3 separate regions of the Homo sapiens genome follow, and regions 2 and 3 are each linked to region 1. Evidence: promoter capture Hi-C in 16 types of primary human blood cells and fetal thymus (Javierre and others, 2016). All regions are on one chromosome and are shown on one strand. Each heading gives the region's core, a stretch centred on a gene start or on the middle of the fragment in contact. The rest is flanking DNA. Distances are from core to core; before and after follow the strand shown. Region 1 holds the start of SHCBP1L (SHC binding and spindle associated 1 like). Region 2 overlaps NMNAT2 (nicotinamide nucleotide adenylyltransferase 2). Region 3 overlaps NMNAT2 (nicotinamide nucleotide adenylyltransferase 2).

Region 1 (3,606 bases), core at 379-2,878:
CTGTTTTTAAACTTTGGCCCAGGACAGGTGGTCTTTATTATTCAGAACCTAAGAATTAAAAAACCCATAATTTATCAAAAACAAACTTTTGAAGAAACACTAGAGTAAAACATTTGTGTGTGTGTGTGTGAGTGAAATATGCAGTTAGTATTGTTATAAACAAAGTCCAGGACTCAACGAAAGGAATAAAGTAAGAATAGAATTGAAACATGATGCATGTTGTAATTATTCCCTAAACTACAGTAACATGATGTTAATTTTTTTTTTTTTTTTTTTTTTGAGACGGAGTCCCGCTCTTTAGCCTAGGCCGGATTGCAGTGGCGCAATCTCGGCTCACTGCAAGCTCCGCCTCCCAGGTTCACGCCATTCTCCTGCCTCAGCCTCCCGAGTAGCTGGGACTACAGGCGCCCGCCACTGCGCCCGGCTAATTTTTTGTATTTTTAGTAGAGACGGGGTTTCACCGTGTTAGCCAAGATGGTCTCGATCTCCTGACCTTGTGATCCGCCCGCCTCGGCCTCCCAAAGCGCTGGGATTACAGGCGTGAGCCACCGCGCCCAGCCACATGATGTTAATATTTTCCTCAAAATAAACTCAGAATTTAACATAGTGTTCTTCCAGACGAGTGTGAAGGAAGGCAGGTGTTTTCCCAATGCTGTTCTCCTTGGGAGCTGTCAGCTTCAGTGCAGTATTTCACAGCTAGACTGTGAACAAACGTTAATTCCAATTGGCTCAATATACATTCAACAGTAAAATACCAGAAGTGAGTGGTCTCTGTTGTTCTCCAAAATGTATGATCTGGAACAGACTTTTATCGTGAAAGTGTTCATAGTTTGCACACATCACTCCCAGCTGGAAGTTGTTGTCCAGTTTAACAGTTATATAATATAATCTTTTATGTGAGAATTTTGAATAGCACAACAGAGACAAGAAAACAGACTAACTTCTCCTTGGTATGACCACATCTTGGCAAAAAGTGAAAGTCCTATTTAAAATGTAAAGGAAATCCTATTTGGTGAACCCTGTAATAGGTGGGGGCTAAAAGGGAAATCTAGGTTGCTGGATTTGTCACTAGGGTTTCCTCTAGTAATAGCCAGAGGGTTCCAGTTAGTGTCACCTCCCAGTATGAAAATAAATTTTCTTTCAGGCTTTGTTTGTGGAGTGGTAGGTGGAGCATTTTTTTAGGTCCTGATGACCTGGAAGGTGACTCATAATCACCCTGAAACGTATGAGGACCCTAAGGAAACCTCCCCTGGGGGAGACAGAGGGCTGGGGTTAGAGCCATTGCGTTGGGCTCGTCTGGCACCTTCTGGTGTGTGCGGCACCTGGTGGGGGTTCGGCACGGAGCCGCACCCAACACTGACCCGGGCCCCCCCACCCCTGTCCTGAGCCCAGGCGCTTCGCCCTGTCCCACCTAGCTCTGAGCAGCGCCCCCCAGCACCCTGAATGCGTCCGCAGGACCCCGCGCTCTACCCGCAGGCCCCGCACCCCCTAGCTCTGGGCCGCGCCTCACATCCCTCCCAGAGCCGCAACACCCCACCCGGCGGGACGCCCTCGAGCAGCCGCTCGTTGCGGGCCTGAAGCGCAGAGCGCCTATTGGCCAGAGCGGCCGAGGGCGGGAAAAGTGGCCAACGGCTGCCTCGGCCCTCGGGCTGCTGAGGAGATGGCGTCGGGCTCCAAGGCCTCGGTGCCCGCGGACTCATTCCGCACCATCAGCCCGGACAGGCGAGGCGAGAAGTCCGCCTCCGCTGTCTCCGGGGACACGGCGGCCGCGACCACCCTGAAGGGCACCGCGATCCCAGTGCGGTCGGTGGTGGCCTCCCCTCGCCCGGTGAAGGGGAAAGCGGGCCGGGAGACGGCCAGGCTGCGGCTCCAGCGCCTGCCCGCGGCTCAGGCCGAGGACACGGGAGAGGCGGCGGCGGCGGCGGCGGAGGAGCCCCTGCTGCCAGTGCCTGAGGATGAAGAGGAGGCGCAGCCCCTGCCCCCAGTCTGCGTGTCCCGTATGAGGGGGATGTGGCGGGACGAGAAGGTGTCGCTGTATTGCGACGAAGTGCTGCAGGACTGTAAGGTGAGCGGATCCGGGACAGGAAGACTACGGTCGGAAGCTCGTCGGAACCTGGGGACAGGCATCTGGGGCTTCCCTCTTAGGCGGATGGGGATCCACAGGGCACAACGAAAACTTGCGTTTCAAAAAAGTAAATGGAGTCAACATGTATAGAGCGTTCACCTTGTTAGAGGTGCCCGCGTCCTGCCCTAGAGGAGTTAAGGTTCGAGTTTCCGACAAAATTCGTCAGGTAACGGGACAGCCCTGAGAGAGAATTTTCTGAGAGCTCCTAAAAAATGAAGATATATTGGCCTTATCATTGCACAGGCATGAATCTTGGTACCTTTATTTAACAGTTTATGTCCAAACATGAGTAAGATCACTTAGCCTTGACTTTTACACTAGAATGCTAGAAATTACTTTAAGGGTACTTCCCACTCAGCAGTCCACAATGCGGCATGATATATATGTGTGTGTATATATATATATAAATGTGTGTGTGTGTGTGTGTGTGTGTATATATATATATATATATATATATATATATATATATATATATATTTTTTTTTTTTTTTTTTTTTTTTTTTTTTTTTTTTGGAGACGGAGTTTCATTCTTGTTGCCCATGCCGGAATGCAGTGGGGCAATCTCGGCTCACACAACCTCCGCCTCCCGGTGCAAGCAATTCTCCTGCCTCAGCCTCCCGAGTAGCTGGGATTACAGGCATGAGCCACCACGCCTGGCTAATTTTGTATTTTTTTTTAGTACAGATGGGGTTTCTCCAGTTGGTCAGGCTGGACTCGAACTCCCGACCTCAGGTAATCTGCCCGCTTCGGCCTCCCAAAGTGTTGGGATTACAGGCATGAGCCACCGTGCCTGGTGGCATGACTTTCTTTTATAGAAAATACATATCTGATAAAACGGAATAGAGCAAATATTTCATGTTTCTAACCTATTTTTTTAAGTTGTAGCAGAAGAATTTGTGTACCTGCATATTCACTGCAGTGATATTTATAAAAAGTTGAAAATTAAGACATAAACAATAACTAGCTGTCTTATCTATGAATTATTCGAGTGAATAGATCTCTTTTAAGTTTAATTTTTTGTTGGTGATGTTTTCCACTAGATGCGGTTTCAGTTAAAATCTGTAATTTTCCAGGTCATTCATTATTTAAGGCTATATTGGTTCCATTTTAAAATAGAAATCAGTAAAAAAAAAAAAAACCACTTAGTTTAAAATCTATAATTTCATATATTTATATGTAGATCCATTTTTTCTCTTGTTAGGCAGAAGATGCTGATGAAGTTATGGGTAAATACCTATCAGAAAAATTAAAGTTGAAAGACAAATGGCTTGGAGTCTGGAAGACTAATCCCAGTGTATTCTTTGTGAAATATGAAGAAGCTTCTATCCCTTTTGTTGGTATATTGGTTGAGGTAAATAAATTTTATTTGATCTTTGTTCTTTTTGAATCAGTTCTTTTAAAGACTAAAATATGACTTTATTATTTGGAGATTGATACACAAGAGTTGACACATTTTTACTTCTGTTTTAAGTTTCCGAGAA
Region 2 (3,626 bases), core at 726-3,225, 300 kb before region 1:
AGCAATGGGCAATAAGCGGAGAGGGGCAGCATGTGGTTCCAAACATGGCTGCACATTAGAGTCGCCATGCAGAGTTACACAACAGTACAAATTCCTGTGTCCTGCCCAGTCCCACTGAGTCAGAATATATGGGGGGTGGGCTTAGGAATCTGCTTCAGAGCCACAGGTATACACACTTTTTCAAAAACTATGTGAGGAGGCACTTAGGGACCTAGCTTGCAAGGTCAGGGTGTAACCACCCAAGGGGTTCACCTTGCTCGCTGCCTAGACAGAGCAGATTCATCAAGACAGGGGAATTGCAATAGAGAAAGAGTAATTCACGCAGAGCCGGCTGTGCGGGAGACCAGAGTTTTATTGTTATCAAATCAGTCTCCCTGAGCATTTCGGGAGCAGAGTTTTTAAGGAAAACTTCATGGGTTGGGGAAGCCAGTGAGCCAGGAGTGCGGATTGGTCAGAGATGAAATCACAGGGAGTCGAAGCTGTCTTCTTGCACTGAGTCAGTTCCTGGGTGGGGGGCCGCAAATTCAAATAAGCCAGTTTATTGATCTGGGTGGTGCCAGCTGGTCCATCAAGTGCAGGGTCTACAAAATATTGCAAACACTGATCTTAGGAGCAGTTTAGGGAGGGTCAGATCTTGTAGCCTTCAGCTGCATGACTCCTAAACCGTAATTTCTAACCTTGTGGCTAATGTTAGTCCTACAAAGTCAATCTAGTCCCTAGGCAAGAAGGAGGTCTGCTTTGGGAAAGGGCTGTTGTCCTCTTTTTTAAACTATAAACTAAGTTTCTCCCAAACTATAAACTATAAACTAAGTTTCTCCTGAAGTTAGTTCAGCCTACACCAGGAACAAGGACAGCTTGGAGGTTAGAAGCAAGATGGAGTCGGTTAAGTTAGATCTCTTTCACTGCCTCAGTCATAATTTTGCAAAGGTGGTTTCAAGGGCAGTGCATGCATTGAAAGGCAGTGAGCTGGTCTCCAGTGAGATCTCACAGGCAGGGCTCAGATGCCTTTTAGAATCTACGTATGTGGAGGCGTATATGAATTTTTACAAATAGTTCGTTTGGGTCTGACACCTAGACTATTGTGTTAGGAGAGAACAGGAAGTAGGCAGACCAAGGCTGGAAAAAAACTGTGCAGAAGCCAAAATGTGTCACTGGAGTCCTTTATACCTGTTGGTGCCTCTCCTCCATGGGCTCCTGTAGGAAGGAAAAGATGCAGTGAATCCCAAAAATCCCTGGAAGAGAATTCATACTCTTGAGGCCAGCATGCAGAGGAACCCAAAAGGATAAACTAAGGATAGTTCTAAGAGGAAAGCTTCTAACAATAATTGCTCCCATTAAAACAGAAGAAAGACCCCAAATAAATTGCCTAGCATTATGCCTTAAGGAACTAGAAAAAGAAGAACAAACTAAACCCAAAGGAAGGAAATAATAAAGATTAGAGCAAAACTAAATAGAGAATAGAAAAACCATAGAAAAAATTAATAAAATGAAGAGTTGGTTTTTTGAAAAAAAAAAACAAAATTGACAAACCTTTATCTAGACTGAAAAAAAGACTCAAATATATAAAATCAGAAATGAAAGTGTAGACATTATAACAGATGTCTCAGAAATAAGATGGATCATAAGGAATTATTATGAACAATTATATGCAAACAAATTTGGTAACCTAGAGGGCAGGGATAAATTCCTTTAAAAAGATAATCTGGCAAGATTGAATCAGGAATAGCCTGAACAGACCAATAACAAATAGATTGAAGTAGTAATTAAAAACTTCCCAACAAAGAAAAGCCCAGGACCAGATGACTTCAGAGCTGAATTCTACCAAATTTTCAAAGAATAATTAATACCAATACTTCTTTTTTTAGACAGAGTCTCACTCTGTCGCCCAGGCTGGAGTGCAATAGCGTGATCTTGGCTCACTGCAACCTCCGCGTCCCGGGTTCAAGTGATTCTCCTGCCTCAGCCTCCCAAGTAGCTGGGATTACAGGTGCCTGCCACCACACCCAGCTAATTTTTGTATTTTTGGTAGAGACAGGGTTTTACTATGTTGGCCAGGCTGGTCTTGAACTCCTGAGCTTGTGATCCACCCACCTCGGCCTCCCAAAGTGCTGGTATTACAGGCATGAACCACTACGCCTGGCCTATACATTTTAAACTCTTCAAAGAAATACAGCTGGAAGGAATACCTCCTAGCACATTCTACGAGGCCAGCATCGCCTTTGATACCTAAGCCAGATAAAGACACCAAAGAGGCCAGGCACAGTGGCTCATGCCTGTAATCCTAGCACTTTGGGAGGCCAAGGCAGATCGATCACTTGAGGTCAGGAGTTCAAGATGAGTCTGGCTAATATGGTTAAACCCCATCTCTACTAAAAATACAAAAATTATCCAGGCATGGTGGCACGTGACTGTAATCCCAGCTACTTGGGAGGCTGAGGCAGAAGAATCACTTGAACCCAGAAGGCAGAGGTTGCAGTGAACTGAGATCATGCGCTGCTGCACTCCAGCCTGGGCAACAGAAAAAAAAAGACACCACAAGAAAAGAAAACTGTAGGCCAATATTTCTGATGAGCATTGATGTAAAAGTCCTCAATAAAACATTAGCAAATTGAATTCAACAACACAACATGAAGCTTATACATGATGATCAAGTAGGATTTATCCCTGGCACACAAGGCTGGTTTAACATATGCAAATCAGTCAGTGTGATACATCACATAAATAGACTGAAAGATAAAACCACATGACCATATCAATTGATGCAGATAAAGCATTGGACAAAGTTCAACATCCTTTCTTGATAAAGATTCTTAACAGTTTAAATATAGAAGGAAAGTTTCTCAACATAACGAAGGCCATTTTTTAAATTTTTTAATTTTTTTATTATTTTTTTTGAGATGGAGTCTGGTTCTGTCACCCAGGCTGGAGTGCAGTGGCACAATCTCTGCTCACTGCAACCTCCGCCTCCTGGGTTCACGTGATTCTCCTGCCTCAGCCTCCTAAGTAGCTGGGATTACAGGCACACACTACCATGCCCAGCTAATTTTTTGTGTATTTTTGGTAGAGACAGGGTTTCGCTATGTTGGCCAGACTGGGCTCGAACGCCTGACCTCGTGATCTGCCTGCCTCAGCCTCCCAAAGTGCTGGGATTACACGCGTGAGCCACCACTCCCGGCAAGGCAATTTATTTTATTTTTTTTAAAAAACCCACAGCTAACATTATAATCAATGGGGAGAAAATGAAAGCTTTTCCTCTAAGACCTGATATAAAGCAAGAATGCCCACTATTCCCACTTCCATTCAGCAAAGTACTGAAAGTACTATCAATAGCAGTTAGACAGCCAGGCACGGTGGCTCACACCTATAATCCCAGCACTTTGGGAGGCGGAGGCAGGTGGATCACTTGAGGTTAGGAGTTAGAGACCAGTCTGGCCAATATGGTGAAACCCTGTCTCTAACAGAAATACAAAAATTAGCTGGGCATTGTGGCTTGTGCCTGTAATCCGAGCTACTCGGGAGGCCGAGGTAGGAGAATCACTTGAACCCAGGAGGCTGAGGTTGCAGTGAGTCAAGATCACACCATTGCATGCCTGCCTGGGTGACAGAGTGAGACTCTGTCTGAAAAA
Region 3 (3,348 bases), core at 794-3,293, 380 kb before region 1:
TAGTTTTTCAAACTGATAGAGTGCACTCAGGAGACCTGAGTTCCAGTTTTAGCTTTTCCATTTACCAACTTGGGCAACAGTAATAATACGCATTAATGTAAAGTCGACAAAACAGTTTCTCAAACCTTATTTCATTTGATTATCATAAGACCGTGTGAGTCATCAGAACAGGTTCTTATTTCCATCTTACAGAAAAGAACATGAGGTTAAGCACTTCAAGATTGTACCTCTAGTAAGTGAAAACCAGAACATAAAGCTAAGGTTTTTAAATAGAAACTCCTATGCTATTTCTACACTGTTGTCATTTCTCCTCAACCCCACACCTAATTTTTTCATGTGCAAAGTGAGGGTATTTGGAATAAATGATCTCAGAATTTCTTTCTAGCTTTCAAGTAGAATCTAGTGTCTTGCAGTTTTCAGATGCACCCTGATTCATCTGAAGAACTCAGAGTTATGATATCTGCCTCACGGTTAATGATCTGTCAGATCTATTCCCACTTTTCTATCTGTATCCTGTAGCATTTGCTTTTTTTTTTTTTTTTTTTAAAGAGATGGGGGTCTCACTATGTTGCCTGGGCTGGTCTGGGCTCCAGTGATCCTCCTGTAGCTAGGACTACAGATGCAGGTCAGTGTGCCTGGCAACATTTCCATTGTTATAGTTCATGGCATAACCTTTCTTTAGAGAGGGGATCTATTTGAAATCAATAATAAGAGAACAACCAGTTTATTCCTTAGATTTCACTAGCAAATAAAGAAACAGTCTGACAAGTGTATGCACATCCCAGCATTTCCACTACTTTTGCATTAAACATCTAAGCACAGCACAGGCCTCTCTCTACAAAGAAGCCAGGTTTGTGACATCTAGAATCATCTACGAGGCATTTAGACCCTTGGAAAATGGCAATAAAAGTGCAAATGGATGGAAAGTATTGATGGCAAAAGGTATCTAAGTGATTAAACATTTAAAAATGGAGCAGGAAACGATTGTTGCCAGCAGAGAGAAGCTTCGGCTGAATCCTTGGTGCATTACTCTTGAAGGAATAATTATAAAAGCCCACAAACTGATGGCAACTCTCAATTACAGATGCTTCTCAAATGTATGGTATTTTTTTTTTTTTTTTTTTTGCTGTGGAGAGGAGGTGGTTAAGATTATTGGTAGTAGGCAAACCTAGATTCAAGGTCTTATTTCTTAGTAAATGACTCAACCTCTTTATGTCTTGGGTTTTTTCTTTATAGAACCTGTGTGATAATGATAACACTAAATAATATATCAAATAGTGATGTGAGGATTTTGAAGTTTAAAGAGATAAATTTGTTGTTGTATTTTCATCAAAGTAAAACATAGTCATGATTTTAAAAATATACTACTACTGACAGGTAGTAAACAGCAGGATTTTCTCTCTTCCTAATTTTTTTCATATTTTTATCCCTTCACTATGTCATTCTTTCTCTCTTATTGTAGAAATCTTTTTTCCCATTATTTTCATTTTTAAAAATTAAGGAAAATATTTACATAGAGTGGCAAGCACAGATCTTAAATGTTCAAGTCACTGAATTTTGACAAATACACCTGTGTAACCAACTCTCCAATCAAGATACAGACCATTCTAATCACCCCAGAAAGATTTCCCCTGCTCCCTTCCAGGCAGTCCTTATTCCCTGTAGGCAGCTATTCTGATTTTTGTCACTATAGATTAGTTTTGCATTCTTGACCTTTAGTTTAATGAAATTAAACAGTATACATTGTTTTGTATTTGGCTTTCTACTCCCAACAGACTTATCTGTGTTCTTGCAAGTAGTAGATTGTATCCTTTTGTGTTGCTATGAAGTATTCCATTGTTTGAATCTACCACAGTTTATTTCTCCAATTTCCTATTGATGAACATTTGGGTTGTTTCTGGTTTGTAGCTATTGTAAACACAACTGCTAGAAACATTCTTGTGTAAGTATTTTTGTGGTCACAGGTTTTCATTTCTTTTAGGTAAGTATTTAGGAATAGAATTGCTGAATCATCTGGTGTTTGTTTAACTTTGTAAAGAACTACTGCATGGTTTTCCAAAGTGGTTGCCATTTGACAATCCTACCAGCAACGTATGAGAATTCCAGTTCCTCCCTATCACCAACAATATTTGGTAATGTCAGTCTTTTTAATTGTAGGTTTTCAAATCCATATGAAGTGATATGATATATAACCAGTGGGGGAAATTGGGTGAAGAGTATTCTCTCTATACTCTCTTTGCAACTTCCTGTGAAGCTACAATTATTTTCAAAATAAAAAGGTTTTAACACATATTGGTTTTTCAAACTGGTATGAGGTGGTATCTCATTGTAATTTTCTTTTGCATTTATTTGATTTCTAATGACACTGAGTACTTTGTCATGTGGTTATTGGCCACTTATATATATCTTCTTTTGTGAAATGTCCGTTCAAGTTTTCATACATTTTCTTTTAATTGCCTTGTTTGTCTTTTTGTTATTAAATGACTTTCATCCTAGTCTATTAGGCTTAGATTTGATTGTGGCACTACTCTAGTAACACTACAGTGCTACTGTTGGTTAAAACCCAACAAGCCTAAGTTCACTGGGCTGATTTAGGAAAACATTACAGCCTGTTGCCAGGGAATAAAGTTGGTATGAGAAGAAATCACACACATTTAGGGAAGAATTTCAGACTCTTTTAGTTTCTCACAGAAATGAGTTTCACAGAGTTCAGATACCCTTGTTGTGAAGGTCTCTCCCTCCTACTCTCCTTGTAAACCTCCGTATCTCCTGAGATCATCCTGTGCCCAAAGATAGGCCAGCCTATTGTATTCACAGATTATTTATCCAACAAACATTGATGGGTGCCTGTAATGTGTCAAGCACTGGTTAGACTTGGGATCAGAAGATATATTAGACATGATCCTGACTTCTGAGACCCTATAATCTAGTTGGCAAAACATATAGTAAAAATAATGAAATAAAATGAATGAAGTACACAGGGATAACTGCAAAAAGGAGTATGCGCAATGTGGCAGCACAAAGGCATGATCAACTAACCCCATCCTGGGACACCAGGGAAGTTCTATTTTTCCCAAGCTTTAGGAAGGCATTATATAGACATTTCTCCCATGTCTATCCCAAGGAAACATAGCCAAGCTGGAACTGAAGATGACTACAGCAGAAACATCTTCAAGCTTGGCTGTTGCAAAAGCATCCATAATCAGAAAAAGAGCTTCCTCACATCACCTTGCCACAGAGGGGTGCAGAGGAGACTCAGGTGGTGGCCATGTTGGTGGTTCATTCACATTTTACACTAATGAGTGAAGGGCTATTTCCTTCCTATTTGCATCCACAGCTGGAGGTATA

The links. The method cuts DNA at HindIII sites, captures the fragments that hold promoters and counts their contacts. A CHiCAGO score of 5 or more calls a contact.
Region 2: a fragment that was not itself captured here is called in contact with the fragment with the promoter of SHCBP1L in region 1 in 1 of 17 cell types (M1 macrophages); the score reaches 7.0 in M1 macrophages.
Region 3: a fragment that was not itself captured here is called in contact with the fragment with the promoter of SHCBP1L in region 1 in 1 of 17 cell types (endothelial precursors); the score reaches 7.8 in endothelial precursors.

The regions. Positions count from the first base shown.
Region 1 is chr1:182,951,188-182,954,793 of GRCh38, reverse strand. SHCBP1L (SHC binding and spindle associated 1 like) reads left to right here and starts at 1,628. Exons shown (of 10, transcript NM_030933.4): 1 at 1,628-2,065; 2 at 3,327-3,476. The coding sequence starts at 1,661. The HindIII fragment of the contact is 6,039 bases long and covers 1-3,446 here.
Region 2 is chr1:183,255,677-183,259,302 of GRCh38, reverse strand. All of the region lies in intron 10 of NMNAT2 (nicotinamide nucleotide adenylyltransferase 2), which reads left to right. It also overlaps a transcript of LAMC2 not described here. Among named protein-coding and RNA genes, the nearest start is that of LAMC2, 71 kb to the right of the region's middle. The HindIII fragment of the contact is 1,321 bases long and covers 1,315-2,635 here.
Region 3 is chr1:183,335,347-183,338,694 of GRCh38, reverse strand. The region is part of intron 1 of NMNAT2 (nicotinamide nucleotide adenylyltransferase 2); the gene reads left to right. Among named protein-coding and RNA genes, the nearest start is that of NMNAT2, 81 kb to the left of the region's middle. The HindIII fragment of the contact is 2,074 bases long and covers 1,007-3,080 here.